Linked DNA regions of Homo sapiens: all the other regions are linked to region 1. Evidence: promoter capture Hi-C in 16 types of primary human blood cells and fetal thymus (Javierre and others, 2016). All regions are on one chromosome and are shown on one strand. The core of a region is centred on a gene start or on the middle of the fragment in contact, and the rest is flanking DNA. Distances in the headings are between cores, read along the strand shown. Region 1 holds the start of PFDN4 (prefoldin subunit 4). Region 2 has its middle 200 kb from the start of DOK5. Region 3 overlaps DOK5 (docking protein 5). Region 4 overlaps DOK5 (docking protein 5).

The links. The method cuts DNA at HindIII sites, captures the fragments that hold promoters and counts their contacts. A CHiCAGO score of 5 or more calls a contact.
Region 2: a fragment that was not itself captured here is called in contact with the fragment with the promoter of PFDN4 in region 1 in 1 of 17 cell types (M0 macrophages); the score reaches 5.9 in M0 macrophages.
Region 3: a contact is called between a fragment that was not itself captured here and the fragment with the promoter of PFDN4 in region 1, in 4 of 17 cell types (M0 macrophages, M1 macrophages, M2 macrophages and 1 more). The highest score is 9.8, in M0 macrophages.
Region 4: a contact is called between a fragment that was not itself captured here and the fragment with the promoter of PFDN4 in region 1, in 2 of 17 cell types (M1 macrophages and M0 macrophages). The highest score is 12.4, in M1 macrophages.

The regions. Positions count from the first base shown.
Region 1 is chr20:54,205,948-54,210,099 of GRCh38, reverse strand. It overlaps PFDN4 (prefoldin subunit 4), which reads right to left and starts at 2,013. Exons shown (of 4, transcript NM_002623.4): 1 at 1,976-2,013. The coding sequence starts at 1,999. LOC124904937 (a long non-coding RNA gene) reads left to right here and starts at 2,059. Exons shown (of 2, transcript XR_007067669.1): 1 at 2,059-2,143; 2 at 3,044-3,154. RefSeq lists enhancers at 982-1,798, 1,939-2,258, 1,799-2,616 and a silencer at 1,679-1,948. The HindIII fragment of the contact is 8,273 bases long and covers 1-4,152 here.
Region 2 is chr20:54,668,796-54,672,947 of GRCh38, reverse strand. No RefSeq gene overlaps it. Among named protein-coding and RNA genes, the nearest start is that of DOK5, 200 kb to the right of the region's middle. The HindIII fragment of the contact is 731 bases long and covers 1,343-2,073 here.
Region 3 is chr20:54,623,618-54,627,769 of GRCh38, reverse strand. The region is part of intron 6 of DOK5 (docking protein 5); the gene reads right to left. Among named protein-coding and RNA genes, the nearest start is that of DOK5, 150 kb to the right of the region's middle. The HindIII fragment of the contact is 639 bases long and covers 1,716-2,354 here.
Region 4 is chr20:54,605,072-54,609,223 of GRCh38, reverse strand. The region is part of intron 5 of DOK5 (docking protein 5); the gene reads right to left. Among named protein-coding and RNA genes, the nearest start is that of DOK5, 130 kb to the right of the region's middle. The HindIII fragment of the contact is 2,611 bases long and covers 1,073-3,683 here.

The DNA.
Region 1 (4,152 bases), core at 764-3,263:
TATCCAACTCTCCCTTCCTTTCCTTACATAATCTCACAGATCTCAACTTAAATGGCACTTTCCCAGGAAAGTCTTCTCTGATCTCAAAACAGACCTCATTTTGGCCCTCATTTCATAAGCACTTTTCCTTCACAGTTCTCATCAGAGAAACTAGTTTTCTGTCTGACTATCTGAGTAATGCCTGCTCTGCCCTGGAACATACGTTCTTTGGGGCTATGAGATTAAGGGGAGAAGAGCTTTCTCACTGGTCACCACAGTTGTCTCCACTTAAAACTGAGACTACGCCATATTACGTGCCCCCGAAAATTTACTGAATCAATGAAAGGAAAAAAAAAGTTGGTAATTAGAAATTTTGCAATCAAAATCCAAGGTTCAAATCATTCTTCTGCCATTTCCTCTTCTACCATTTACTTCACCTCTCTGCACTTCAGTTTCCATACCTATAAAACGGAGTGAACCACAACTAGTATCTTCCAAGGAATTAAAGGCCATACCTAACACCAGAGGGCCCAATTTAACAAACTAGAGGTGAAGTGAATCTCACAAAGTTTCATACTTTTTTGAATCACCATGGCCCTAGACCCTACTCTGGGACACAGTAAGAATTTTTGGATGGCAGAATAGTAGGGTGAGCAACACATCCTGAGTTGGCTGGGGCTTTCCCATTTTTGGCAGTCCCTCAATTTCATATAAAAGGGGGCAATGGGTCACCCTACACCAGGCACAGATGGCATAGACTATGTGGTACTGGATAGGGGCAAAGCAAAGAAGTTCTAATGTGGTCTTAAAAGTGGAATGAACGCAAATCCCTCCAGCCAAGAGATTCTCATCAAAGACCCCCTATAGCAGTTTAAAACACAGACTCCGGAGTCAGAATGCCTGTGTTTAAATGCTAGCTTTGCCTCCGCGCCTGTTTTCTCATTGTTAAATAAGGATAAAAACAGTATCTCCCTCAAAGAACATAAAATAAACAATACACGCAAAACAACTTACAGCTGTACCTAGCACACTGTAAAGCTCCCCAAATTATCAGCCGTTATCTCCTTCCCCCTCTCCAATTTTCTTTTTCTTCTATCTGACTATCTTTACACATCTGGGAAGGCTCACGGGATTAAAAACCCCACATGGAAGTTTAGCCGGCTTAGTGGTTACACAGGCGTGCTTTGAGAAAAACAAAAACAAACCTGAGTTTGAACTCCAGCTCTGCTTCTTACTAGCTGAGTCACTTTAGGGCCTCTAACTGCTCTGTGTCTAAGTTTCTCTACCTGCAAAGTGGAGAGGAACCCATTGCACTTGCTGAGTTGCGGGGAGGATAACAGATAAACGGCCGGCTGCTGGGCCCGGCACATCTTCCATTCTCAATAAATACTGGTTTTAGCCTGAAGGACTCAGGGGCATCAAGCGTGGAAATGGGCAGCTCCAGGTTGGACACAGGGTCTCTGGGGCCTGCTAATCTGGGGATGCAGGAACCTGCTGTCCCCGTTATGAGCTGCGTAACCTCGGGCAGGTGACTCCCCATCTCTGGGCCTCAGTTTCCTCACCCGTAACCACGCTCCCAGCAGCAGCTACCCATAACCAGTGAGGCTAATGCGATCATGCCGGTGCAACGCCCGAGTCAAGGCCAACCACACTCAACGGGACCTTCGGCTTCCCACACCTCAGGGGCGAGGCCGGGGCTGCAGGTTCCTCAGACTCCCCGGGGGCACCCTCGGCATCGCGGGAGGCGGACCTGCGTCCTTCGAGGCTCCCGGCCCCAGCCCCGGCGCCCCGCCTCGGCTGGCCAGGTGCCTAGGAAAACGCTCAGGGCGCCAGGCGCGAGCAGGCCTTGCCGCGGGACCGCTCTCAGGGCCTCGGCCTCGGCCTCGGGTCCCACGCCGGGCTTCGGAGCTGCGCACCCCCAGCATCCCGCGCCCGGGCCCCAGCGGCCGAGATCCGGCGCCGCCCGAGCATCCAGAGCCCCGAGCTCCCCACTCACCGCCTTCTTCATGGTGGCCGCCATCTTGGGACTGGACTACCGCAGGCGGCGGGGAGGGCCGCAATGGCGCGCTTCGCCCCCGAGCGTTCTCTCGCTCCCGGTCGGCCTAGAACTCCCCGCAAAAATACAACACTGTCTCCACATTCCGTCCTCTTGGACTTTTGGCCAGTGAGTCCAAACGGCTGGGACGTAGGGAGGAAATGTGACCTGGAAGGACTTGGTACATGCCAATTAAAGGGACAGGCAACCCCCGTGGACCGACATAAACACGGGGGTGTGGCGAACGGCTCCGGCCGCGGGCAGCAGGGGGCGCGCCCAAGGCTCAGCGCGGCGGGGCCCAGCTGGGGCAGGATCAAAGGGCTCGGGGAATTTTTCTCCATCCGTCCCACAGACTTGCATTGAGAAAGCTAACCTACCTGTAAAACAGCTAGGAACGAATGGCCTTGGCAAATAGGGTGTGAGATTTATGTGCCATGATAATTCAGGTGGTGTAAAGGAGGTACTCCTATCTTTTAATGTAATTTTTTTTTAATTTAAATTCGGGGGGTATGTGTGCCGGTTTATTACATGGATATACTGCATGGTGCTAAGGTTTGGGTTTCTAATGATCCCGTTGCCCAAGTAGTGAACATAGTACCCCACAGGTAATTTTTCAACCCCTTTCCCCTGCCTCCTTCCCCGTTTTTGGAATCCGTAGCATTTATTGTTCCCACCTTTATGTCCACGAGTACCCAGTGTTTAGCTGTCACTCATAAGTGGGAACATGAGTGGTTGGTTTTCTGTTTCTGTGTTAATTCACTTAGGATAATGATGTCCAGCTGCATCCATGTTGCTGCAAAGGACATGATTTTGTTCTTTTTTATGGCTGCATAGTATTCCATGGTGTATATGGACCACATTTTCTTTATCCTATCCACCACTGATGGGCATCTGGGTTGATTCCATGCCTTTGCTGTTGTGACTAGGCAATCCTATTAATTAATTTACAGCAATATTACTGAACAATTACTGTATATTCTGACACTTGTGTCTCCCAATTAGTAATTTTTTTTTTTTTTTTTGCCTTAGGACCTCTTTATACTCCTGGAAATTACTGAGGACTCCAAAGAACTTTTGTTTATGTGGGTTATTTATCGATATTTGCTGTATTAGAAATTAAAGCAGAATTTTTAAAATGTATTTATTAATTCATTTAAAATAATATAAAACTCCATTCCATGGTAATAAAAATCACACTTTAAAAATAACTATATTTTCTAAGACAAAAATAAATTGAGAAGATTGTCATCATTTTACATTTTCACTGATCTCTTTAATATCAGGCTTAATGGAAGGTTACATTCTCATGTCTACTTCTGCATTCAGTCTCTCCAAATACACTGTTTAGTTGCCTAGTTGTAGGTATGAAAAACCCCAGCCTCATACAAATCATGTAGTTGGGAAAGGGAGGCCCTCATGGATCCCTGAAAAGGTCTCAGGGACCCCCGAGGTTCATGGGCCACAGCTTGAGAACTGCCCCTGACAAGCCTCCTCCTTTCTCAAAGTCCCAATTTCCTCTTTGGTTAAATGAGGGGAATGAGACCTTATAGCACCCTGTGCCCTCCCCACCGAACCACCTAGCCCGCCACGGGCATCGCCTGTTCTCCTGCCTATTCTGGGCTCTCCAGGCCCTTAGTATTGGGACTTTCCAGTGTGTAGCTCATATGTGCTCAAAAAAGTATTTGTTGAATAAAGATGTTTTTCCAGGGTTAAATCTTAGCACCGGGTCTGGCACATAGGAGATGCTCCATCAGTGATATCTGTTTATTCCAGAGCTCAATGTAAAAGCACTGCAAGAAACAAATGGTGGAGAGGGAGACAGAAATAAAGGGCAAAATTGTCACAAATGGTACCAAGTGCATGAAGGAGATAAATGAGGTGCTGAGGCAGAGCACAGAGGGGAGGGGTGGGGGCCAGCTCTGGAGCTGGCCTCTAAGCTAAGAGAAAATGGGAGGCCTCAGCATGGGGAGAGGAGACGAAAGTGGACCCCAGGGGTGGAGGGCTGAGAGGGAAAGAGCCTGGTGAGACATGGTAGAAAGGACAGAGCAGCATGGAGCGAGGCTGGGGTGCAAGGCAGGGGCCAGATCTGGGCATGTTTTAGAACTTGGTGAGGCCAAACTGGGGGAGGGAGAGAGAGA
Region 2 (4,152 bases), core at 459-2,958, 460 kb before region 1:
TGATTTAAAAAAACAATATTTACTGAGTGTCAAACATGAGCCAAATATTGGGTTCCACATGTATCAATTTCTATAGTCCTCATAAGAGTGCTACCCCACTACAGAAATCACTTCTACATCACGGGCATTCAAGTTGTTGATTAAATACATGATATTAATCAATCCATTTTATAAAACTGATACCCAGAGAAATGAAAGAAGTTGTGTAGTCATGCCGGGGTTCAAACCCAGCTCTGTCAAAGGCTGAAGCCTTTCCAGTGCCCCCACCTCCTCTGCTGAATGCAGATATATGTTCCTTTATCCAGAGAAGGAAGAAATTGGAATGGAAAATTAACAAGAAGAAATGAGACCAATTTCTTTTTGACATGAGGAGGTATCCTAGGCTGTATAAATTCATGGGCTATAAATACTGTTGCCTTTATGGGCCCCTTTTTCCATTAAAAGGTCTTTAAAATTATATTATATGGCTGAGTTGGTATAAAGACAAAATCCAAAATGAATTTTTTTCTTCTGATTTTAGAAGAAAGTAAAAACATTTTCATGGATCTTAAAAGTACCATGAAACTGGGCACAGTGGCTCATGCCTATCATCCCAGCACTCTGGGAGGTTGAGGTGGGAGGATCACCTCAGACCACGCAGGGAAACATAGGGAGACCTAGTCTCTACAAAAAATAAAAAATTAGCTGGGCATGGTGGTGCACCTGTAATCCCAGCTACTCAGGAGGCTGAGATGGAAGGATCGCCTGAGCCTGGGATTTTGAGGCTGCAGTGAGCCGTGATCCTGCCACTGCACTCCAGGCTTGGTGACAGAGCAAGATCCTATCTCAAAAAAGAAAAAGTATCATAGGTTCCAGGCACCGCACTTACTGTGTCTCACAGAGAAGGCAGCCCTGACACTGGTGTGTAAAAACTCCATTCACTCAAAGAACCGTGCACACACACACACACACACACACACACACAAAACCTGTTCTAAATCCACATATCTGCCAGGTTTTGCTGTTCACAATGTTTACAAAATACCATGGAAATAAACCCCTATTGGCTGTTAGGATTCTGTTTGATTGCATATACTGGAAACCCATCTATAATGGCTTAACCAAACAGGAGATTTTTCTATGACATAGGTCCAGATGTGGTCATTCGCAGTTGGTACAGCAACTCATGGGGAGTCATAAAGGACCCACACTCTTGCTGACTTCCTCTCTGGCATCATTACCAAGCCTCTTTGCTCCTCGCGGAAGCAAGGTTCTCCACCTCTGAGCATCCTATTTGCATTCCAGGCAAGATGCAGGGGAGAGTGCTAAGGACGGAGGACAAAAACCTTGACTTCTAGAAGCTTTTTAGGGAGGAGAGGGGTGGAAGGACGTCTTCTGCAGAGACTTCTGCTTATATCTCATTGGACGTAATTGAGTCCCAGGATACCCCAGATCTGGAAAAGTATTTTCAATTAGAATAATTGCTTCCCCAAACAAAATCAGGGTTGTTAGTAAGAAAGAACATGGAGAATGCATAGGCAATTCAGCAGCGTCAACTTCAACAACCATAATTTATCTAAAGCAAAATGATTCTCTAAATGCACGACCAAATCTTTGAAAGGATCTCAGATCAGGAAAGTTTCAGCCTAGCAGAAAACTGGGAGACTTCTTAGATTTTCACCAGTGCAAGATAATCCAAGCCACTCTGCCCTCTGTTAGTGCCTGGGAAAACTGAGAAGTAGATATAAAATTACGCTTTCCATTAGCTAATAAGTCTGTGGCACCCGTTTCCCCAGGCTGCATTCGTTTATACAAATCACTTGTTTTCTAGTGTAAGACAATAGAGTTGTCTTTTCTGGGTCCATTAAAATAGGTATCTCATTCACATCAACTTCTCCCTGGAGAAATCTTGTCGGCTTGCTGATGTTTACCTGAAGTACTGTTCCCTCAATAGAAACACGGCGTATGCCGCATGATGCCTCTTGCTGCTCTGCTGGCCTGGCGATCCCAAACCCAGCTGATTGCTGCCTCTCCTATAGGACCGTGAGCATGATGGAACCCTTGCTACTGAGCACAATTCTTTGTTTATAAGCTTCCAATTGTTTATGTTTTTATATTTTTTATTTGTACACATGTATGGAGCACATGCAAAATTTTGTTACATGTATATAATGTGTAGTTATGAATGGTATTCAGTATTCAGGGTGTCCATTATCCAAGTACAATACATTTTTAAGTATAGTCACTACTCTGCTATTGAATAAATAATTTCTTCCATCTATCTTACTATGTTTGTACCCTTTAACCCACTTCTCTTCATCCTCCTCCCCAATCCCACTCACCCTTCCCTGTCTGATATTTATCTTTCTACTCTCCACCTCCATGTGATCAATTTTTCAGCTCCCATATAAGTGAGAACATGCCATATTTGTCTTTCTGTGCCTGGCTTATTTCACTTATGATAATGACCTCCAGTTCCATCCATGTTGCTGCAAATGACATGATTTTTTTTCCTTTTCTTTTTCTTTTTTGAGATGGATTCTCGCTCTCCTCTGTCCCCAGGCTGGAATGATCTCGGCTCACTGCAAACTCTGCCTCCCAGGTTCAAGCAATCCTCCTGCCTCAGCCTCCTGAGTACCTGGGATTACAGGCAATCACCACCACTCAAGGCTAATTTTTGTATTTTTAGTAGAGATGGGGTTTTGCCATGTCAGCCAGGCTGGTCTCAAACTCCTGACCTCGGCCCCCCAAAGTGCTGGGATTACAGGCATGAGCCACTGCGCCCTGCCATCATTCTTTTTGAGGGCCAAGCAATATTACATCGTATATATATATTCCACACTTTCTTGATACATTCATCCACTGAGGGACATTTACATTGATTTTGTATCTTTGTTATTGTAAATACTGAGCACAAGTCTTGGTAATGAAATCACACAGTGTTTGTGGACAAAACTATGGACAGGACGCAACAAAATATTGACTGTTGTACTGGGATCTGACTAGTGCGACCACGTGTCCCAGTTTGCCCAGTACAAGGGTTTTTTCCCCAGCCTTGGGATTTTCTATGCTATAAGCAGGAAAGTCCAGGGAAAGCTACGATAAGTTGGTCATGGTGAGAACAATCTTTATGCAGCATTGGCTTCGAACCTATCTAAAATAATATCATTAATAGAAACTAATGTTTATTGAGTGATAGCCCTGTACCAGGCACTATCCTGAAGACTTTACATTTATTACATTTATTACACTATTTAATCCTCGCAAGAACATTATTATTATTATTATTATTTTTTTTTTTTTTTTTTTTTTTTTGAGATGGAGCCTTGCTCTGTCGCCCAGGCTGGAGTGCAGTGGCTTGATTTCGGCTCACTGCAAGCTCCGCCTCCCAGGTTCACGCCATTCTTCTGCCTCAGCCTCCGGAGTAGCTGGGACTACAGGCACCCGCCACCACGCCCAGCTAATTTTTTGTATTTTTTTTTTATTAGAGACGGGCTTTCACCATGTTACCCAGGGTGGTCTCGATCTCCTGACCTCGTGATCCGCCCTCCTTGGCCTCCCAAAGTGCTGGGTTTACAGGCGTGAGCCACCACACCCAGCCAAGAACTTTAAAAGGAAGGGATGATTGCTATTCCCATTTTAAAAATGAGGAAACAGAGATGCAAATTGTTTAACCTACCTAAAGATTAACAGTAGAAGCAGCAGAGCCTGGACCCAAACCCAGGCAGGCTGGCTCTGAAACACAACCTCCTTACCAGGACTCAGTGCTGCCTCACTCAGATCCCCCAGAGATGTTGGGCCATGTGAGCCGAAGTCCATTTGCTGCTTGGGCAGCTGGTCCCCTACTCCTCCATCTGCTGTTATCTGCTGATATGCGACAGAACTTTCATTTTATGACGGTAAAAGAGAAGGGGATTCTTGGCCGTGCAGAAGCTTTTTAACTTGATATGATCCCATTTGTCCATGTGACTTGTAGATGTAGACACTGTATTTGTTTCTTTTTCTTGCTCTTTTCTTAGAGACAGGGTCTCACTATGTTGCCCAAGCAAGACTCACAACTCCTGGGTTCAGTCCATCCTGCCTCCTCAGCCTCTGGAGTAGCTGGGACAACGGGTGCAAGCCATTGCAGCCAGCCGGGAAGGGACATTTTATTCATGAGTTATTTTTGTAGTT
Region 3 (4,152 bases), core at 786-3,285, 420 kb before region 1:
TCAATGCCCTGCCCCAGGCCTGTTAAAACACTCAAGTGGAACCCCGAAATCTGTGGCTTTACAAGCTTTGTAGGTGACTGTGATGCACACGTAAGTTGGAGATCCACTGCGTCTTTCTTTCCCGTACCCTTACCCTGTCACCCTGACCCACGCCACAGACACATTTACCCTCAGACCCTAGAGGCTCTCTCCGCTTTCAACCTCTGACAAGTTTCCCAAACCTGTTTCTTCCTTTCAGTTCCCAGTGAGTATCAGTCCAGGGCTTTTGGTTCCCGTCCTGACTTTCTACTTAACTAAAGGGTGACCCACCGAACCTCAGTTTCTGCCATTATGAAATGGATCTACTAATATGTCCAATAAAATGCAAGATACTCCAGCATTTCAAAAGACAAGGCAGCAACACTGATTTAAATATTTTAAAAAGCGACTTAAATCCTTTAATTCAGCAATCCTACTCCCGAGTTTAGAAAACTCCATTAACTAAAGTTCACAAACTCAATTCAATAAGGTTAACAATCTATAAGAACTGTGTACAAGGATAATTGTTGCGGTATTGGTTTTGATGTTGTTGTGTTGTTTTGTTTTTTATTTTCAGGGACTCACTTCACAGTCAAAGAGTATTGTTTTAATGGCAAAAAATCTGATATTCTTATACGTACGTTTAATAAATTATGTTACATCAAGACTCTGAAATATCATGCAGCCATCAAAAAGAATGAATAGGAACAAAGTCGGCAAACTTTTCTGTTTTGGACCAGATAGTAAATGGCTTTGCAGGCCACACCATCACCAACTACTCGACTCTGCTGTTTCAGTGTGAACAACAACTCATAAATGAACAGGGAGGATGTAGCTGTGTTCCAATAAAATTTAAATTATAAAAACAGTCATAGGCCAGATTGCACCCGTGGGCTGTAGTTTGTCAACCTCTGAATTACAACTGTACTACAAGACTTCAAACTATTTCCATTAAATGTTTACTGTTGAACGGAAAAACTAGGGGTTAGTCGTGTGTTGTGATCACAATTTTGTAAAATAAACAATTGCATCACGACACCCATCTTTTGTATGTATCTGTGTATGTGTCTATGTATATATGTAGATGTGCATATCTGTACAGGATAATATGGGTACACAGGAAAACATGGAAAGGTACATGTGAACTTCTTAACAAGGTTAGGAATTGCTAATAAAGAGACAGGAGGGGGAAAATGCATGTAAACAAATTATAAAAAGAAAAAATAGAGCACTAATCATCATCTATATGACCATAATTTTGCAGTTAGTTAAATTTTACAGACATGTGTTTATGTAAAAATAAATAAGATTCAAAAACCAGTCCCTATCTCCAAGGATAGTTGTGAAAATTGAAGGAAATAAAGCACGCAGACTCTCAGCAAAGAGCCAGATGGAGCCACTCATTCCAACTCTAATTATCCCTCAATTAGAAGAAGCCTCCTAACTGGGTTTTCTGCTCACATGCTTCCTACCTAAAAACCTCCGCTCTTTCCCTCACCCCTTTCGATGAATTCTGCACTCGGTGTTCTTCGGCTCATTCATTCCCTCATCCCATCCATGTATGTACTCTGGGCATCATTTATAAGCCACACACTGTGCCAGGGTCTGCAAACTTAAAATGAATAAAAACTTTCACACTTTCTCTGTCCCCCAGGATTTTAGAGTGTCTGGTCAGACAGCTAGTTGAAAGCCAAGCTTTGGATATATCATTGTCTGCCTCCACAACGGTGCTCCTTCCTCTAAAAAGGAGAGAAGACCCTCCTCGCAGCAGCGTTCTCCTTCCTGAAGGCAGAGATTTCTTGTATATGCTCATAGATGTCGTGCCCACCATGATTCCTGGCATATAGTAGGCATTTAATAAAAAGGGATTGGATAATTGAATTATGGATGGATGAATTGATTGAAGAAATGAATGAATCATTTGTGTGAATGGGGATTCCCTATAATCTGCCTTCCCTTGCCATTTTATTCTCCCACTACAAGTCAGTAATAATAACAGCTCAGGTTGCTGCTATATTTAATAGGTACCAGGCACTGTGCCAAGAAATCACCTGCCTTATCTCACCTGGCAAGTTGTGAACTAATATAATCCACACTTTGTAGAAGGGGGAACAAGTACTAAGGGTGGTAAAGTTAGTAGCCCGAGGACCCTGAGCTGGTAAAGATGTCCAGCCAGGATATAGGACCTGGCCTCTTACTCCAGAGCTACAGTTCATAACACAATTCTACATATTTCTCATAGAAAGTACTGAGAGTATTATACAGATCCTAAAGGATGGACTCAAATCTACTCCGTTCCAAATGATAAAAGGCACCTTAACTGTATTTCCAAAGCTTAAAGAAATGGCAACTGGCCAAACGTCTAGGCTGCAAGGAGATGACGCTGCCCCCACCATCTGGAAAAACAGGAGATTAGAACCTCTATGAGGCCCTTGGACCCCCACTGTCCCAGGGGCCTTCTTTCAAGTGGAAATTAACGATCTGCCAAACATGTGGTCTTCCCCGACATTCTAATGAACCAGTCCTCATGGGCTGCCTAATTCTGATTCCAGCTCTGACAGATGTTTGGCAGGAACCACCCAAAGAGCTGTCTTTACTTTCTCCAAGTCCTCTCTTTTGTTCTGACATTTGGAGGAAAAGTGATGGGTACTCCTATCATCCAAATGTTACCAAGGTATCACAGAATATTATGAAACTGTCAAGAAAATAGAGTGAGTAGAGGCTTACTTCCTCGATGTTAGAAAAAAAAATGTGGGTAAGAAAGAAAGACCGCTTTCCTGCTAAGGGAAAAAAAAAAACATGCAGCAAAGACACTACACAGTGAGCAGACTCTGGCAGAAACAATGCCTCCATTGTGGCTTACAGCTTTGACAAAGCAGACTGTTAGTGAAATCAACCATTTGGGGCCAAATTTCCAAGTGCAGCATGTTGCCGAGCACCAGATGCACTCAAATGGTTATTTTCATGGGGAATGAAAGTGATTTGCATCAATTTATTCGGAGCCATCTGAATTCTCAGCCACATGCATAAAACAAATTCACTGCTCCCTTTGCCTCCGGTAACTTTTTCTGCCTCCTTACTAAAAAAATTCTCTCCCCCACCTATACATTGAAATAGATATCCTTAGGGACTGAGTTTTCTGTGGCCTTTTAAAGCAGACTTGCCTGGAACCTGTGCCCTGTTTGGGCATTAGGAGAGAACTGGACTTGGTATTTTGGCTTCGATTTTTCTTTTTCTCTTGGCTCACACAATAACTTATTTGATCCCTATTTTGTTCATTCAACAAACCTTTAAGCCCTGTGCCAGACCCTGAGCTTATTACACACCCATGGGGCCTTGTCCCTGCCTTCCAGAGGTTTACAGGCTCGAATGGAGCTGCCACTTACTCAGAGGTCAGCTTTTAAAGTTAATGCATAACATAAAAATCACATATAATCAGATTGTCCCTTTAAACACTAGGCTCACACTCAGTGGAAGCAGGTGCTTTTGTGACAAGATGCCAAGCACATGCCAGGGTGAAGGGGTGGGCTGCTGGGCAGAATCGCCTACACCATGTATTCACATATTGTTTTCTTGTTGCACTTTGCTTTACAAAGCAGGTATAACTGACTGTGCGTATTTCTGGAATTCCTGCTGAGTACTAGGCTATGAGCTGCACAGAAGACAGGGGCCTTACCTCATAGTCACATGTGGTTGTGCTTGCTCTATTCTTTAATACTGCACAAACATCATCAGGGTCTTAAGGAAACAAGAGCTCTCGGCTCCATCATTCAAATTCCTGGTGTTTCCTGTTTATATCCCCATTGCTTCAAGGTGAGTCTCTTTCTCCTCGCCCAACTCATATTGGTTTGTGTAAGTAAGAAGGAAATCACTGGCCGGGTGCAGTGGCTCACGCCTGTAATCCAAGCACTTTGGCAGGCCAAGGTGGGTGGATCATGAGGTCAGGAGATCGAGACCATCTTGGCTAACATGGTGAAACCCTGTCTCTACTAAAAATACAAAAAATTAGCCAGGCATGGTGGTGGGCGCCTGTAGTCCCAGCTAGTCAGGAGGCTGAGGCAGGAGAATTGCTTGAACCCAGGAGATGGAGGTTGCATTGAGCCAAGATTGCACCACTGTACTCCAGCCTGGGCG
Region 4 (4,152 bases), core at 1,129-3,628, 400 kb before region 1:
ACAGCATAGAAACTAAGCAAATTCTCAGCCTAAACCACTGTTATTTTTTTTAGTCTAGCCCAGTCTATGCAGTTAATGCAATAATACGAGGAAGATGTATCTAATGTTTCGCAGTTGGCCCAGTACCACAGCCAAATGACAGCCTTCTATACATATGGCATGGCCTAAGTAGTGGGCCAAAACCCATTACATTTGAATTAAATTTCATGAATTTTATGAATATGAGCCATGTATGAAGAAACAGAGGGAGTTTGGGTGTGGTGGCTCACACCTGTAATCCCAGCACTTTGGGAGGCCAAGGTGGGCGGATGATCTAAGGTCAGGAGTTCGAGACCAGCTTGGCCAACATGGTGAAACTCTGTCTCTACTAAAAAATACAAAACTTAGCCAGGCATGGTGTGGGGGGCACCTGTAATCCCAGCTACTCTGGAGGCTGAGGCAGGGAGAATTGCTTGAACCTGGGAGGTGGAGGTTGCAGTGAGCTGAGATCATGCGACTGCACTCCAGCCTGGGTGACAGAGAGAGGTGCCATCCCCCCACCAAAAAAAAAAAAAAAGAAGAAGAAGAAATAGAGGGAAAAACATGAAGGCTCTTTCAATAAGCTAATCTAAAGAACTAGCTCATGAGGTTGATCATGTGATTTTAATTATTAAGTCATTTTAACCCAAAGAAGATCTGAAACTGAAATTCAAGGCATTTTCAGTAAAGTCCCATTTCTTCCCTGAAGACATCTTAAAATACTTAAACCCTTTCTACTTCCTCTTCCTTATTTAAGCCGCCATACAAACTTGACTCTATTGTTTGGCATCCAATTCTGTAAGGTTTTGTTTTTCATACATCTTTATTCCATCAATTAGGAAATATTAATTTGTCAAGAGAAGGAAGTAATCTTAATCAATTCTTTAAGAGGAAAAAGTGGCCACTGGTTTCCCCTGGGGCAGAGGTCACTGTATATTTATTTACTTCCTTAAATGCCAACCTTGGTTCCAGAAGTAATGAAGGTACCTGTTACTCAGAAATACTTGTAGTGTGACAGATTAATACCAAAACTTGCAGCTATGTTTCTCAAGCTTGGACAATCTAGTTGCTTTCAAAGTCTTTGTTAACTGCAACCCGCCGTAGGAAATGTAGTTTAGATTTTTAGCCAGTATACCTATCAATCTATCATCAATCTATAACATGCTATTATTTTCTATTCTATCTTATTTGTAATACTAGTGGTGGAATGCTTAATTTATATCATAACCCATTAATTAATTTTACTCTTGGAAAATCACTCTTACCCAATGCCCACTTTGTTTTGTTTTGTTTTGTTTTGTTTTGTTTTGTTTTGTTTTGTTTTAGATGGAGTCTCGCTCTGTCGCCCAGGCTGGAGTGCAGTGGTGCGATCTTGGCTCACTGCAACCTCCACCTCCCGGGTTCAAGCAATTCTTCTGCCTCAGCCTCATGAGTAGCTGGGACTACAGGCATGTGCCACCACTCCCAGCTAATTTTTGTATTTTTAGTAGAGGTGGGGTTTCACCATTTTGGCCGCTGGTCTCGAACTCCTGACCTCGTGATCTGCCCACCTCTGCCTCCCAAAGTGCTGGGATTACAGGCATGAGTCACTGCACCCGGCCCCCAATGCCCACTTTTAAGAAACATAATAAATCCACAACCTTCCCTTAATGACATTTAAATCTCTAAATAAATATTGTTATCAAAAACAAATGAAACCAAAACTATAGGACTAAACATTCTTCTTTAATGTACATGGACTTCCCTCTCCTCTGCCTGAAGATCTGGAACACACACACACACACACACACACACACACACACCACTTACCACTAACAGAAAACAACAGGAGACACAACCTCAAATTCCATTAGAGTTCAGGCAGAGAACGTGAATGCATAAAGGTGCTCAAACTCACTATGACCTAGGGTAGAGGTAGCGCAGCTAGCAGAGAGCACAGGTCCTGTCTAAGCATGGTATCCAGAAGTCAGCCCTAGACAGGAGTCTATGTGGGGGAATGGGGAAATACGCGTCCAAGGTACTCACAGTTTCTGATTGTTTAGACAGGTTAGATAGCTGACAGTAGGTCACAAAGCTGGTGAGATGGCAGGCCAGCCAGGTGATCCCTGATCAAGCTCCTGCATTCTATTATGTTTAAGAGAAGCAAGACTTCTTGACTTTTATGTGAAGTCACCTGAATTTTATATGTCAGCAACTTGTTTCATTTTCTTTTTAAGTTGTGAGAGTCAAAAGGCCTTAATCAACCAGATCTGGCCAAGAAATCACCACTGTGCATTAAAGACACAAAATGCATTAAGAGCTCTAAATAGAACAGAAATGAGGCCTTTGGTGTAAATTGTTAGGACTTTTGCTCCTATTGCTCAAAGCCATGTGTCCTTCATTGGACAGCCTGACCCATGAAGATGCTAATGACCACAAACTGACCTTCAGATGCTCTTCCATCAGGTCTCTTCTATACTCTACCCACAAGTCCTTTTATCTTATCCACCCCTCCTAATTGATGTGTTTGGAACCGTTTCATAAGCAGCTTTACAACACTCTAAAATGTTACTACATGCCTCCATCAAAACCATATGATGGGCTAACTCCCCAAGGCAGTAAGAAGAAAACAAACAAACCAAAAAAAGGAAGTGAAAAGAAAGGCACATCAAACAGGCTAATGGTCTTACATAACCTCCTACAGCCATGTCTGCTTCTCGTCTCCAGAGAAAATGCAACACAGAACAAAGATGTTCTAATGGGTTTACCCTTTAGCAGAATAGCAAAGCCACCTGCTTTAACTTCTGTTGCTCCCGATTCCTCCTTTCTCTTTACCCATTGATTTTTACCCTGGATGCTCTTCCTGTATCCAAAGTGGCCCCAAGTGGCCCAAACACTCCGTACATTAATGGAAACCAGTGGATTGGAAACCCAGAGAAGGTTAAAAAAAAAGTTTAAGTTAGGCCTTTCTAATTTCCTCTGTGATGATAAGGATTCAAATATAATAATATTGCTGCCATATAGATGCAGGTATAGTTTTGAGTTTCCCAATAATTGCCTAAATGAAATGCCTGTCACTCCGAATCATGGATTATTCAATTATTCAAGAATTCAGAAGGAACCAATAGCTCAGAAAATGTTGGGAAGGATTCATTCTTCCACCTACCAAAGGCAACATAATAGAATGCAGGAGCTTGACCAGGGATCACCTGGCTGGCCTGCCATCTCACCAGCTTTGTGACCTACTGTCAGCTATCTAACCTGCCTAAATCTGCATTTTTATATGTAAACAAATGTAATGCTAAGAACTCTCACCTAGATTTACTGCAAGTATTAAATAGGATATGTAGAGTACACAATTACATCTTGAAGTAAAGAGAGCTTCCATTACTTTACCAGAATGTAAGCTCCCTGTAGACGGGGATTTTGTTCTGATATACTCGCAGCTTTTCCACTAATGCCTAGAGCATGGCTTGGTTTACATTTCATGTTCAATAAATAACTGTAGAATGAATTGTGAAGCAGAAGGCAGTGCTAGGAAAAGCATCACCGGGAACCTGACCCAGGCTTCCTTGAGCAACTTTTACTGACACTGAGAATTCATTGAGTTACCCTGGGGAGGGGAGTGGTTTGAGAAAGAAGGCAGGAAAAACAGCCTTGACAGACAGAACTGCACATATAAAGCTTTAAGGTGGGACACAGGTAAGTGAAGCCAACATGTTGGGGAGGTGGTGGGAAGAGGGGTAGCCTGCGGGGCTGAGCCCCCAGTGGACAGAGCACAAGTGTGCATGTGCTGGGACTGTGATCCTGGGTACTGTGAAGATTCAAGACCAAGACACTATGGTTCATATGCACTGAGTGCCCAACTTCAGAAACTCTGTTCTCTCGTTTTGCCCATAACATTGCACACTAACATATCTTATTAGAAAAATACTAATGGGGTTGAAATTATGAAAACTAAAATAAATTATCTCATGGTAGACAGAATGAATAAGTAAACATTTGAAATCAGTAAGCCAATAAGTTTCATATTTTCTTGCTTCCAAGATGTATTCTGTGCACATGGCTCTCTCTGTCTCTCTCTCTCTCTGTGTGTGTTTGTGTGTGTGTGTGTGTGTAGAATATATGGACACTGCCAAAAGCAGAACACATTTT